2 separate regions of the Homo sapiens genome follow, and region 2 is linked to region 1. The links are contacts of gene promoters, found by promoter capture Hi-C in human tissues and cell types (Jung and others, 2019). All regions are on one chromosome and are shown on one strand. The core of a region is centred on a gene start or on the middle of the fragment in contact, and the rest is flanking DNA. Distances in the headings are between cores, read along the strand shown. Region 1 holds the start of GPRASP1 (G protein-coupled receptor associated sorting protein 1). Region 2 overlaps ARMCX5-GPRASP2 (ARMCX5-GPRASP2 readthrough).

Evidence for each region. The method cuts DNA at HindIII sites, captures the fragments that hold promoters and counts their contacts. A contact is called where the count stands out against the background at its distance.
Region 2: a contact is called between a fragment that was not itself captured here and the fragment with the promoter of GPRASP1 in region 1, in 1 of the 25 tissues and cell types used here (hippocampus).

What each region holds. Positions count from the first base shown.
Region 1 is chrX:102,645,485-102,652,734 of GRCh38, forward strand. It overlaps GPRASP1 (G protein-coupled receptor associated sorting protein 1), which reads left to right and starts at 5,999. Exons shown (of 6, transcript NM_001184727.2): 1 at 5,999-6,111; 2 at 6,203-6,249; 3 at 6,691-6,781. All of the region lies in intron 4 of ARMCX5-GPRASP2 (ARMCX5-GPRASP2 readthrough), which reads left to right. The HindIII fragment of the contact is 5,623 bases long and covers 3,255-7,250 here.
Region 2 is chrX:102,847,445-102,854,804 of GRCh38, forward strand. The region is part of intron 12 of ARMCX5-GPRASP2 (ARMCX5-GPRASP2 readthrough); the gene reads left to right. All of the region lies in intron 3 of LINC00630 (long intergenic non-protein coding RNA 630), which reads left to right. Among named protein-coding and RNA genes, the nearest start is that of LINC00630, 82 kb to the left of the region's middle. The HindIII fragment of the contact is 3,240 bases long and covers 749-3,988 here.

The DNA of each region.
Region 1 (7,250 bases), core at 4,749-7,248:
AAACCAATTATGTCTTCCCAGCAATCCCCCAAAGTCTTAACTCATTTCAGCATCAACCCAAAAGTCCACAGTCCAAAGTCTCATATGAGACAAGGCAAGTCCCTTCTGCCTATGAGCTTGTAAAATCAAAATCAATCTAGTTACTTCCTGGATAAAACGGGGGTGTAGGTATTGGGTAAATACAACCATTCCAAATGGGAGAAATTGGCCAAAACAAAGGGGTTACAGGGCCCATGCAAGTCTGAAATCCAGTGGGGCAGTCAAATTTTAAAGCTCCAAAATGATCTCCTTCAACTCTAGGTCTCACATCCAGGTCATGCAGATGCAAAAAGTGGGTTCCCACAGTCTTGGGCAGCTCTGCCCTGTGGCTTTGCAGGGTACAGCCTCCCTCCTGGCTGCTTACATGGGTTGGCATTATCTGTGGCTTTTCCACGCACACAGTGCAAGCCGTCAGTGGATCTATCATTCTGGGGTCTGGAGGATGGTGGCCCTCTTCTCACAGCTCCACTAGGTGGTGCCTCAGTAGGGACTCTGTGTGAGGGTTCTGACCCCACATTTCCCTTCTGCACTGCCCTAGCAGAGGTTCTCCATGAGGGCCCCACCCCTGCAGCAAACTTTTACCTGGGCATCCAAGCGTTTCTTACATCTTCTGAAATATAGGCAGAGGTTCCCAAACCTCAGTTCTTGACTTCTGTACACCTGCATGCTCAACACCACGTGGAAGCTGCCAAGGCTTGCGGCTTCCACCCTCTGAAGCCACAGCCCAAGCTGTATGTTGGCCCCTTTCAGCCACAGCTGGAGCAGCTGGGACACAGGGCACCAAGTGCCCAGGCTGCACACAGCATGGGGGCCTTGTGCCCAGCCCACAAGAACACTTTTCCTCCTGGGCCTCCAGGCCTGTGATGGGAGGGACTACTGGGAAGTTCTCCGACATGGCCTGGAGACATTTTTCCCATGGTCTTGGGGATTAACATTAGGCTGCTTGCTACTTATGCAAATTTCTGCAGCTGGCTTGAATTTCTTCCCATAAAATGGGTTTTTCTTTCTTATCGCATAGTCAGCCTGCAAATTTTCCAAACTTTTATGCTCTGCTTCTCTTATAAAACTGAATGCCTTTAACAGCATCCAAGTTACCTCTTGAATGCTTTGCTGCTTAGAAATTTCTTCTGCCAGATACCTTAAATCATCTCTCTGAAGTTCAAAGTTCTACAAATCTCTAGGGCAGGGGCAAAATGCTGCCAGTCTCTTTGCCAAAACATAACAAGCGTCACCTTTGCTCCAGTTCCCAACAAGTCCCTCATCTCCATCTGAGACCACCTCAGCCTGAATTTTATTTTCCATATCACTATCAACATTTTGGGCAAAGCCATTCAACAAGTGTCTAGGAAGTTCCAAACTTTCCCACATTTTCCTGTCTTCTTCTGAGCCCTGTTCCAACCTCTGCCTGTTACCCAGTTTCAAAGTCGCTTCCATATTTTGGGGTGTCTTTTGAGCAACACCCCACTCTACCGGTACCAATTTACTGTATTAGTTTGTTTTCACGCTGCTGATAAAGACATACCCGAGACTGGGAAGAAAAAGAGGTTTAATTGGACTTACAGTTCCACATGGCTGGGGAGGCCTCAGAATCATGGCAGGAGGTAAAAGGCACTTCTTACATGGCAGTGACAATATAAAAATGAGGAAGAAGCAAAAATAGAACCCCCTGATAAACCCATCAGATTTTGTGAGACTTATTCACTATCATGAGAATAGCACTGGAAAGACTGGCCCCCATGATTCAATTACCTCCCCCTGGGTCCCTCTCACAACATGTGGGAATTCTGGGAGTTACAATTCGAGTTGAGACTTGGGTGGGGACACAGTCAAACCATATCAAGTCCCATCAATGGAATGTGAGTGGAAATGATGTGAGCATTTCCTCACCATGGATTTTAAGAAGGAAATCAACTACTTCTATTCTCCTTTTTCTCATTTGCTGGCTGGATGCAGGCTGTGGTGAGGCCCTATCATGATGAGGCAGGAAGTGATGGTTAGTTAATGAGAAACAACAACAAAAGGTAGTGTAGTTTTCTCATTATTTTTTCTATTATAGAAAGCAATTTGACATTCCATTAATTTCTAATATTTATTGACATTGTGGAAATTCAGGTTTTCTTCTCCCTGTAAAGCTAATTAGCTCTCCTTGCCAGCTCCTATAGTTCTAAAAATCCTCAAGGGGTATTTCCTATGTCCTGAATTTTTGGGGTTTTCCTGTGATTCTTCCAGTTGTTGCTGCCATTCTAAGCTGTATTGCCAGGCATTTAATGTCCTCTAATTAACTGTTCTCTCTAATTTCCTAACTCCACCTATACACAGGGTTTTCATGATGTCAGATCTGAGTAGTAGTCAAAAGTTTAAATCCATGTTAGAAAGGAGGATATTTTCCTCTCTTTAGGTTATGCTTTATTAATGGGTTCCTTACACTGGAGCATTACAGAGTTTACTTAAAGACAGTTATTTCCTGGATATGTATAAACCTGCCTTTGCTATGACAGATATACAGTTGAGGGTTTGTGTTGGAATAGGCACAAATAGGAGTTCTATAATAATTTCAGTGTTGCTATTAGAATATCTATACTTCCCTAATGGCAAGGCATTGTTCATGGGCTAGGGTCCTTGTGCGTGACTTGGTTTTTCTTCAAGATTAATTCTCTTGAAGTAGACCCCACCCCAAATATGACCTGAAAATATTCTTGGGCCAGGCCTCCCCACCAGTTCTGCAAATGTACCCTGTCTCAAGAAGTAGAGACAGGCTGAGATCTTTCCCATAGCATTTTCAGGCTACACTGAAAATAGACATCTGTTGGGCCAATTTCACCATATAGTTCACCAGACCAACCTCAGCCTAGTTATTCCTGACTACAGGGGACTTTAATTTCTGTGTACAACCTTTGAAACTTTGAGATAGAAGAAGGGGATACATTATAAGAAAACACAGGGTTTGGCTCAGCCTCGACCAAAAGAGAAGTCTCAGAAGGAAGCTTTGCTTGAGGCCCATAAAGGACAGTATAGAGGCAAGTAAAACTAAATAGGCAAAAACAAGTCCATGACCATGGTGATTGAGACAGACAAGAGGAGAACAGGCAAGTGATAGGCTGGTGTGCAAGTTCATGAGCATGCTTGGGGGTGGTGGGTGGGATTTGGAAGAAAACAGTGAGTATGATGAGTGAGCACAGTTGCATCTGTATCATGGACTTAATGCTTATGGATTATTTGGCTCTGACATTTAGATTTCAGTGGTAAGTCAGGGTTACACAGGTGCTAGTGTAGGCACTGAGGAGTAGAAAGATGACTGTTGCAATTTATTGAACTAGAATCAATTATAGGAGGAAATAAATAGTGCTTAGCAGTCAGAGTATCTTATTTCAATCTTTTATTTGCTCAAAGGTTTTAAAAATAATAATCTATTTGATACATACCCATACAAAGCTAACATATGAAAAGCTTAAAGTAGGGCCTTTATCACTTCAATACATACTAACCAATACAAGACCATGTTTTCTAAGAGTACTGACAACAAATTGTCCAACACACATTTTAAAGTCTCACACAGTAAAATTTGTCAGCTTTTGGTAGAACCATTCCTCTGTCAGTAAATATCTTGGAATAAAGATCCTAGCACCTGCAGAATTACCACAGAAGCTTGTGCAAATGTGATTTTGGACATAATTATAAAACAGTAAAGGGGATTGGTGGCTGTATTGGTGAGATGAGCCCTAAAATATTTCTCAGAGACTGAAGCACAGGTAAAGAAAGGCAATGGGAATAGAATTCATCAGGATGGTGAGTGTATTCTGTTCCTACTCCTGCTATTGTTACCAACCAACACAGTGGGTGGGTTCAGTCGTTTGACATCAACCCCATGATCACAGCAAGGATTTAGTAAGGGGATTTATTACTTGTAACGAAGTAATGAGACCACCAGGGATACTTCCCAAAATAATGTCTCCCTGAGATGGGGGCTGGGTCAGGTTTTCATAAGCATTGGGTATTAAGGGTATATCCTGATGGCTTTGGATCTTACAATGAGGTGATGCTGAGAGGCATGATCTGACTGGATCCTGCCATCCAGTGTCCACTTCTTAATTCAGCCCTGGTCCTAATTCAAAACACTTACATTCTCCCTCTGATTGCATGCTTGGTTCATCTGAGGATGCTCAGGTAACATGATCTGAGGGTCCCCGGCAACTGAAAGACAATGCACAACTTTGTTATATAAAAGTTAAACCAGATAGGTCTGGTGCTGCTACCCTGTAACCAGTTACCATACATGGAATGGCTTAAAATAATACCAATTTATTATTATCTTACAGTCCTGGAAGGTTGGAAATCTTCAAAGGGCTTCACCACACTAAAATCAAGATGTTGCCAGAGGAGCTATCCCTCTGGCATTTCTAGGGAAGAATCTGTTTCTTTGTCTTTTCCAGGTTCTGGAGACAGCCTGTATTTCTTGGATCTTGGCTTCCTTCCATCTTCAAAGCCAACGATGACCAGTGTAGACTTTCTATGCTGCTTCAATCTGACATGGAGTCCCTGCCTTCCACATCTAAAGTACCCTTGCAATTACATTGGCCAAGATAACCCAGAATAATCTTAAATTAAACTCAGCTGAATAGCAATCTTAATGATCCTTTGTCAGGTAATATAAAATGGTACATGTTCTGGAGAACAGGACATGGACATCTTTAGGGGACCGTTACCTGCCAAACACAATGAGGGTAGTGTCTAAATGAGTTTTCAAATGGACAACAGTAACAACATCAACTTGGTGTTTAACCACATTGCTCTGTCTGTCCCATGCAGGAAGCAGGGAAAGGAGGGGCTCAAGAGTAGAGGACGGATGTGGGGGTGAAAGAAGAGGATTCAAATGAGCCAGGTTGCTTTGTCTCGGGGAGGGGGGTGCACGGTGGGATCCTCTCCTGAGAATGACTGCTGAAACAATAGGTAGTTGTGGCAGGTGGCGGAGATCCAAGCTGGTTTGATACCAGCCACATTTCCACACTGCCAAATATCATGGCAAGAGAAGACTTGACAGGGAACCGAAGAGAAGCCAGGACCATCCCTACCTGGCGGCATCAAAGAGAGAGGACTGTTATGACCTCCTGCGGGTCCTGACAGGGAAAGGTCCTCTTTTGGGGGCAACTGTGGGGACGGTGCAATGCCAACGTGAGCCACCATTTGAAATGAGAAACAGCGGTGTGGCAGAAAGAAATGAGTCTGGTGCAGACCAGTGGTTGGTTTCCTAGGGTTAGAGGTCTAGGTCTACCTTCTTTTAGAAGAGGGGCAGTGGTGAGTCCTTGATGGGAGCCCCCTGCCCCGGAGTTCACTTAAGAGCAGGTGTACCTTCCTCCCCTGCGTGGCTCCACGAAGCTGGGAAAGAAACGCACAGGACGACCACCCTAGAACCCCGGGCCTGTCTGGACTGAAATCGCCTCTCCCCTCCCACACTGCAGTGCTGACACCCCCTCTCCCATTAACATCCAGGAAGGAGGGTGAGCAGACTAGGGAGGGGGAGAGGGCAAACACCCAGCAGTCCTTATAGGGGGGCGGTTGGGGCGGGGGTGCAGACACACCAAGGGACGGTTTGGTATCCATCCGCTGCTCCCTCCAGCGCGGCTCTTCGCGACCTCGCGATCCTGTCCTCCGCCCGGCCCCGCAGCCGCCCGCCGGTGCCATATATTATAGCAGCGCCAGAAATGTGGTGGTCGTCGCCACGTTAGGGTCCGCGGGGTCCTCCTGAGGCAGCCTGGTGCCAACCCGCAGGCCCCGGCTGGGGCTCGTCCTGGCCCCGCCCACCTCTGGGTCGGAACTATGGTGGTTCTGTGAGGGGGGGCGTCCTGCACTTTCGCGCCGTATCCCTCCGCCCCCCTTCCCGACACCCTCGCGGAGAGCGGTTCTTGCCGCATCCTGCGCAGCCCCTGCCCAGTTTGGTGCAGAGGCGTGGGGGGCGGGACTCGTCTTTGCCATTCGGATCGCTGGGAAAGCGGTGGGAATCCAACTGAAGAGCAGCCAGAGGAGAGCTGAAGAGAGGAGGGGGAGGCCGATGACCTGGGCTCTGGGCCTCTGAAGGCAAGTAGGGGTGCGTGAGGTGGGGGGCCGTGGTGTGGGGGTGGTCCGCCAGGGTGGACCGGCTGGCAACCTGCCCCCCGGACCCTGACAGCCTGGCAACGAGGAGACGATCCGTTCGGAGCCGGGCGCTAGAGAGAGGTGCGCAGTGCCCGAGATCCCTGGCTATGGGGAGGCGGTGACTGGTGCGGGCCAGGCCGGACCAAGGGCTGAGGGGCTGGCTCCAGAGGCACCGTCAGATCGTCTGGAGGAGAACCGCGCTGACCGCTTCCCAGCCAGCTTTGCAGGCGCCCGCGCGCAGCCCTCGACGGTTTCGGTACCGAGAGACGGCTGTGGGGGAGGCTCCTGCGGGAGAAATGGCCAAACGGGAGCCGTGTTGGGGGGCGCCCGGGAGGCAGTTGGGGGGCGCCTGGGGGGGCCCTCGTGGGCCAGCGTCCCAGCTCTGTGCCTAGCCCGTGGGAGGTGGGTCGCGTTCGCTGCTCCGGGCCCTGATTCCGGAAAGGGGCCTGTGGGGCCCCGTGTCCTGGGTGCTGTCCCTTCCCACAGACTCCAGGTTGATGTCAAAGTCTGTCTGCGCGGTAGGTCTGGCGTATTCTGACAGGACACAGTGAGCATCTGTAGAGGAGAGGCTTGAAATAAAGGAGGAGCACGAATATTCCCTGGATTTCTGGAGGTGTGTGGGGATGTGGGGTGGGTGCCAAACACTGGAGAACCGAATCGGGGTGGGGGACTGCGACCAGAGCAGGTCAGGCATCCAGGAGCACCTCTTAATCTTCCCCTCTCTAATGGTGTTCCAGGCGCTTCCCCCACCTTCCATCCCCATCTGCCTCCCCCACCGTCCTAAACTGGGGGCTTGAAAGGGTGAGCTTTGGAGGTAGGGGTGATGAGGGAGACATACTGACAAGTACCAATTCACGACCTGTTTTCTAGAATATGTGGCGCCCTTCCCCCATTTTCTGCTGCGCAGAGCAAGGGGATGTGGCGCACCTAGTGGTGAATCCTCAGAATTGGAGAAGGGAGTAATGAGAAGAGTATGACGTCAAGAGAAGGAGTTGTTATCTCTAGAACCTTGAAGCAGGGCCTAAACAAAACGAGAATATTCCACCAGCAAAACCCCGAATGTTGAAAGACAGATATCAATA
Region 2 (7,360 bases), core at 1,119-3,618, 200 kb after region 1:
AAAACTTGGGTATTTTCCAGTTTTTGACTTATCATGAGTAATGATCATACGAACATTTTTGTTTGTATCAAATAGATGGACATATATTTTCATCTCTCTTGGGCATATACCAAAGAATAGCATTCCTGAGTCATAGGGTATGTCTGTGTGTGGCTCCATAGATACCACCAAGCAGTTTTTACAGTGTTTTTTTTTTTCAATCTATATTCCCACCAGCAGTGTGTGAGAGTTTCACTTAATCCATATCCTCACCAGCACTTGGTATTTTCCATCTTTTCCATTTTTGTTGTTCTGGTGAGCATGTGGTACTATCTCCTACTGGTTTTAATTGTAATTTCTCCAAAGTGTCAAGTCCCTTTTAATTCAAAGAAGGTCCATCCTTTTTTTCAACCTTCTACTTAGAGTTCTCCAACAAAACAGAACGACTCATATATATATGTGTACATATATATGTATATGTGTGTGATATATGTGTATATATATACACACATATATACACATACACTCATATATGTATGTATGTATATCTGTGTATATATATATATACACACACACACACAGAGACATTGCAGAGATATTACAGGTTTAGTTGCAGACCACTGCAATAAAGCAAATACCATATTAAGCAAGTCACATGAATTTTATGGTTTCCCACTGCATATAAAAGTTATGTTTACACTACTGTAGTCTATTAAATATGCAAATAGCATTATGTCTATAAAAATAGTGTACTTACCTTAATTTAAAAAGACTTTATTGCTAAAAACTGCTAACAATCATCTGAGCCTTCAGTGAATTATTATCTTTTTGTTGGTAGAGGGCCTTGATGCTGTTGATGGCTAACAGATCGGGGTGGTGGTTGCTGAAAGTTGGCACAGTTCTAATAATTTCTTAAGATAAGACAACAATGAAGTTTGCTGCATCCATTGACTCTTCCTTTCACAAAAGATTTTTCCATAAGCATGTGATACTATTTGATAGCGTTTTACCCAGAGTTCAAGTTATTTCAAAATTAAGGTCAATCTTTCAAACCCTGCCACTGCTTTATCAAGTTTATGTAATATTCTAAACCTTTTGTTGTCATTTCAATGATGCTCACTGCATCTTCAACAGAAGTAGATTCCATCTCAACCAACCACTTTCTTTACTCATCCAGAAGAAAAAACTCCTTATCTGTTCAAGTTTGATCTTGAGATTGCAGCAATTCCATCACATCTTCAAGCTCTACTTTAATTCTAGATCTCTTGCTGTTTCCATCACATCTGCAGTTATTCTTCCACTGAGGTCTCGAACCCCTCAAAGTCATCCATGAGGGTTGGAATCAACTTCTTCCAAATTCCTTTTAATGTTGATATTTTGACCTCTTCCTATGAATCACAATGTTCACAATGGCATTTAAAATGAATTCTTTCTAGAAGATTTTTCCATTTACTTTGCCTGGGTCCACCAGAGGAATCACTGAGCAGTAGGCCTCAATAGCGGGCTTAAAGTATTCAGTAAACCATGCTGTAAACAGAGGTGCTGTCATTTAGGCTTGTTGTTTTATTTCTAGAATGCAGACAGAGTATATTTAGCATAATTTTTAAGGGCCCTTGGATATTCAGAATGGTAATTGAACATTGGCTTCAATTTTAAGTCACCAGCTTTATTAACCCCTAAAAAAAAGAGTTAGTCTGTCCTTCGAAGCTTTGAAGCCAGGCATTGTTTTCTACTTTCTAGCTATGAAAGTTCTACATGGCATCTTCTTCCACTATAAAACTGTTTTCTCTACATTGAAAATATTTTGTTTAGTATAGCAACCCTCGTCAATTATTTTACCTATGTCTCTGGATAATTTGCTGTAGCTTCTACATGAGCACATGCTACTTCACCTTGCACTTTCATGTTGTGGAGATGGGTTCTTTCCTTAAACCTCACGAACCAACCTTTGCTAGCTCCAGCTTTTCTTCTGGCTACACTTTTCTTCTGCTGCTTCCTCACATTTTCTTAGCCTTCATAGAATTGAATAGAGTTAGAGCCTTGCTCTGGATTATGCTTTGGCTTAAGGGAATGTTGTGGCTGATTTGATCTTCTATCCAGGTCACTAAAACTTTCTCTTTACCAGCAATAAGGCTGTTTTGCATTCTTTTCATTCATGTGTTCACTAGAGGAGAACTTTTAATCTCCTTGAAAAACATTTACTTTGTGTTCACAACCTGGCTGTTTGGTGCAAGAGGCCTAGCTTTTGGCCTGTCTCAACTTTTGACATGCCTTGCTTACTCAGTGTAATCATTTCTAGCTTTTGATTTAAAGTGAGAGACATGGGACTCGTCCTTTCACCTGAACATTCAAAGCCATTATAGGGTTAATATAATAGCCTAATTTCAATATTGTTGTGTCCCAGGGAATAGGGAGGCCTGAGGACAGGGAGAGAGACCGAGAAACAGCCAGTCAGTGAAGCAGTTAGAGCACATACATTTATCAATTAAGTTAGTCATCTTAGATGGGTGTAGTTTGTGGTGCCTGCCCCGAAACAATTACAACAGTAAAATCAAAGACCACTGTTCACAGATCACCACAATAGCTATTACAATAATAATGAAAAAATTTGAAATATTGTGAGAATTACCAAAATATGACAGACACACAAAATGAGCACATGCTATTGGAAAAATGGTGCTAATAGACATGCTTGATGCAAGGTTGCCATAAAACTTCTGTTTGTAAAACATGCAATATCTGTGAAATGCAATAAAACAGAGATATGCTTGTATGTATATACACACACAAACACACACATATATGTACACACACACACACAAACACACAGAGGGTCCTTGACTTATTATGGAGTTACATCCCAATAAACCTATCCTAAGTTGAAAATATCATAAGTCAAAAATGCACTTAATACACCTAACCTACTGAACATCATAGCTTAACCTAATTTGCCTTAAACACACTCAGAACCCTTACATTAGCCTACACCTGGGCAAAATCATTCCATACAAAGTCTATTTTATAATAAAGTATTGAATATCTTCTGTAATTTATTGAATACTGTACAGAAAGTGAAAAACAGGTGTATGAGTACTCAAAGTACAGTTTCTACTGAATGGATATCACTTTTGTACCACCATAATGTTGAAAAATTATAAGTTGAACCATACTGATAAAGATTTATTATAAGTAGTTGGCTCATGTAATTATGAAGGCTGAGATTTGTCAACATCTGCAGTAGGCAAACTTGATTTCCAAGAGAGCCTGTGGTATAGTTCCTATTCAAAACTGAAGGTCTGAGAATCTGGAGAGTTAATGTTGTAAATTCCAGGCCAAAAGCTTGCTGGCTAGAAACACAAGAAAAGGTGATTTGAATTCATGTCCAAAGGCAGGAAAAGACCAATGTTTCAGTTCAGAAAATGAGGCAGAGAAATTCCTCCTGGTCAGCCTTTTTGTTCTGTTTACATCTTCAATTGATTGGACGAGGCCCATGCACATTAGAGAAGGCAAATTTCTTTACTCAGTTCACCCATTTGAATGTTAATCTCATCCAGAGACACCATCAAAGACACACCAAGAATAACGGTTTTTTTTTGTTTGTTTGTTTGGTTTTTTTTAGACAGGATCTCTCTCTGTTGCCCAGGCTAGAGTGCGGTGGCACCATCTCGGCTCACTGCAACCTCCACCTCCCAGGTTCAAGCAATTCTCCTGCCTCAGCCACCTGAGTAGCTGGGATTACAGGCGTGTGCCACCACACCTGGATAATTTTTGTATTTTTAGTAGAGACAGGGTTTGGCTGTTGGCCCGGCTGGTCTTGAACTCCTGGCCTCAAGTGACCTGCCTACCTCGGCCTTTCAAAGTGCTGGGATTACAGGCATGAGCCACCATGTCCAGCCCAGAATAATGTCTGACCAAATATCTGGGACCTTTGTTGCTCAGTCAAGTTGACACATAAAATTAACCATCACACATTCCAATTTATTTGCTTAAGATATTTTGCCCTATGGAGTTTGCTTTGTGGATTTTGCTGACTTATATCCTTATTGTGTTGTTTATTATATTCCACTGGCAACTTCTTTTCCTTTAAATTTGTATTAGATTTAGAGTCTTGATCCAATTCAGATTTTTTGGCAGAAAAATCTGTGGTGTTGTTTATTCCTAAAGCATTATACCATGAGGAGGTTAATTGTATCTAGTTGTCTCTCCTCTTACGATGTTAAGATTGATCACTAGGTTCAAAAGTTGTTAGATTTATTGATTATAAAAATTCCCATCTGCATTATACCTCAAGTATTTTGCAGCCTCTAAATGTGTATAAGTCCACATTTCATTAAAAGTTGTAGCAAGGTGATGTTCTAATTCTATTTTTGGCATTTATTAGCTTGAATTATTCTATAAAAGAAACATCCCCTCATCAACTATAGGTTAGTATAGTATGCATAGGAAAATAAGATGAATGCTTAATTCTTTTGTTATATTTCTACTTTTCAAAATAATGGGTTGTTCTAGGATTCTTCAGAGGGGAGCAGTGAGTTGATTTTGTTTTGTTTTCTTTTGTTCTATTCTATTATTATTTTAAAGTGTTTTCATAAGCTCTAGATGTTTCTATATCTGATGTGTTTTAACCTATTGCAATATTTTTATTGATGTTCAGATTTTTCTGTCTTTGTGAATGGAAGCTTCTTTAGCTCAACTTATTCTTGACATGGTTTTGAGTATGTTAGTTTGGTCTAGACTCCTCTGGTACCATTCCTACCCCAGACCTGGAGTCAGACATTTTTTCCAAAGGAGTCTGGTTCTTTTTAGTGGGAAATGTTTTAGAGGTCTCATTCTTGGTACTAGAGTTGCCCATTACTATTGGGTTGGTCATTATTACTTATCCTTTTCAGTGCTTAAAACCATTAAATATGTATTATATTTTGAGATAATACACATGATTGTCTTTAATCCTGGGCTGCTGTTCTATCCCTTTATGCATAATCATTTTTATCAATGTTTGTTTTGACCTTCTAATTTTAAAATTATAAGCAAATACATTATTTTCTCCTATTTTATGGTTTAAAAGTAGGCTACTCTACTTCAGTGGAGTCCAATATGATTTCTGCAGAGATAAAGAGTCTCTGTCTACACTGTTCACCACAGTAGCCACTAGGTCCCTGTGGTTCTTGAACACCCAAAATGTGGTGATTGTAATTGAAGAACTGAATTATTTATTTCATCTAAATTTAATCAACCTAAATTTAAATAGCCATATGTGGCTAGTGTCTACCATAATAAACAGCAACAGCTCAGACATATTTCTGCACCTCATTTTTTTCCGCTTAAGAATATATTCTAGAGATCAATACATAGCAGTATAGAGAAGGAGTCCTTGCTTTTTATTGCTGCATAGTATTCTAGGATATAGATATACCTTAGATTATTCAATAAACCACTTATTGGTGGACATTTGTTTTATTTCTAGTCTCCTGTTGTTATGATTTGTTCTGCCAGTAATGGCCTTGTGTTTATGCCATTTGGTCTTTTTTCATTGTGTTTTTGGGATAGATTCTTAGAAGAAAGATTGCTGGTACCAAGATAAAATACCTACGTGTAATAAAATAGAAGATTTAAAACAGAGTGTATCTGGAAATGTAGCAGCAGAAAGTGACCTGAGGTCTTTTCATTCCTTTTGTTCCACATGATTTTTGGTTTCTTTCTTTCTAGGGTGACATGGGTAAAGGAATTTCTTTCTTTTTTTTATTTTATTTTCCTTTTCATTTATTTTGTATTTGTACAATACTATTTGTTTACTTTTTTTTTTTTATTTCCACAGGTTTTTGGGGAACAGGTGGTATTTGGTTACATGAGTAAGTTCTTTAGTGGTATTTTGTGAGATTTTGGTGCACCCATCACCTGAGCAGTATACACTGAACCTGACTTGTAGACTTTTATCCCTCTCCTCCTTCCTACCCTTTCCCCGAGTCCCCAAATTCCATTGTGTCATTCTTTGCATCCTAGCTTAGCTGCCATTTATGAGTGAGAACATATGATGTTTGGTTTTATATTCCTGAGTTACTTCACTAACAATAATAGTCTCCAATCCCATACAGGTTGCTGGAAATGCCATTAATTCATTCCTTTTTATGGCTGAGTAGTATTCCATCATATATATCGATATATACCACAGTTTCCTTATCCACTCATTGATTGATGGGCATTTGGGTTGGTTCCACATTTTTGCAATTGCAAATTGTACTGCTATAAATGTGTGGGTTCAAGTATCTTTTTTGTATAATGACTTATTTTTCTCTGGGTAGATACCCAGTAGTGGGATTGCTGGATCAAATGGTGGTTGTACTTTTAGTTCTTTAAAGAATCTCACACTGTTTTCCATAGTGGTTGTACTAGTTTACATTCCTACCAGCAGTGTAGAAGGGTTCCCTTTTCACTGCATCTATACCAACATCTATTTTTTTTTAAATTTTTTTATTATGGCCATTCTTGCAGGAGTATGGTGATCATATTGCATTTTGGTTTTTATTTGTATTTCCCTGATCATTAGTGATGTTGAGCTTTTCTTCATGTTTGTTGGCCATTTGTATATCTTCTTTTGAGAATTGTCTATTCATGTCCTAGGCCCACTTTTTGATGGGATTGTTTGTTTTTTTTTCTTGTTAATTTGTTTGAGTTTGTTGTAGGTTGTGGATATTAGTCCTTTATCAGATGTATAGATTGTGAAGGTTTTGTCCCACTCTGTGAGTTGTCTGTTTACTCTGCTGACTGTTCCTTTTGCCATGCAAAACTCTTTAGTTTAATTAAGTCCCAGCAGTTCATCTTTGTTTTTATTGCATTTGCTTTCGGTTTCTTATCATGAAATCCTTGCCCAAGCCAATGCCTGGAATGGTTTTTCTGATGTTACCTTCTAGAATTTTTGTAGTTTCAGGTCTTAGATTTAAGTTTTTGATCCATCTCTAGTTGATTTTTTATAAGATGACAGATGAGGATCCAGTTTCATCGTTCTGCATGTGGCTTGCCAATTATCCCAGCACCATTTGTTGAATAGGGTGTCCTTTCCCTACTTGAAGTTTTTGTTTGCTTTGTCGAAGATCAGTTGGCTCTAAGTATTTGGCTTTGTTTCTGGGTTCTCTATTCTGTTTTATATATATATATATATATATGTGTGTGTGTGTGTGTGTGTGTTTGTGTGTGTGTGTATATATATGTGTATATATATGTGTGTGTGTGTGTGTGTGTATATATATATATATATATATATATATATATGTATATAAATGTTTCATATATAGTCTATGTGCCTATTTTTATACCAGTACCATGCTGTTTTGGTGACTCTGGCCTTATAGTATAGTTTGAAGTAAGGTAATGTGATGCCTCCATA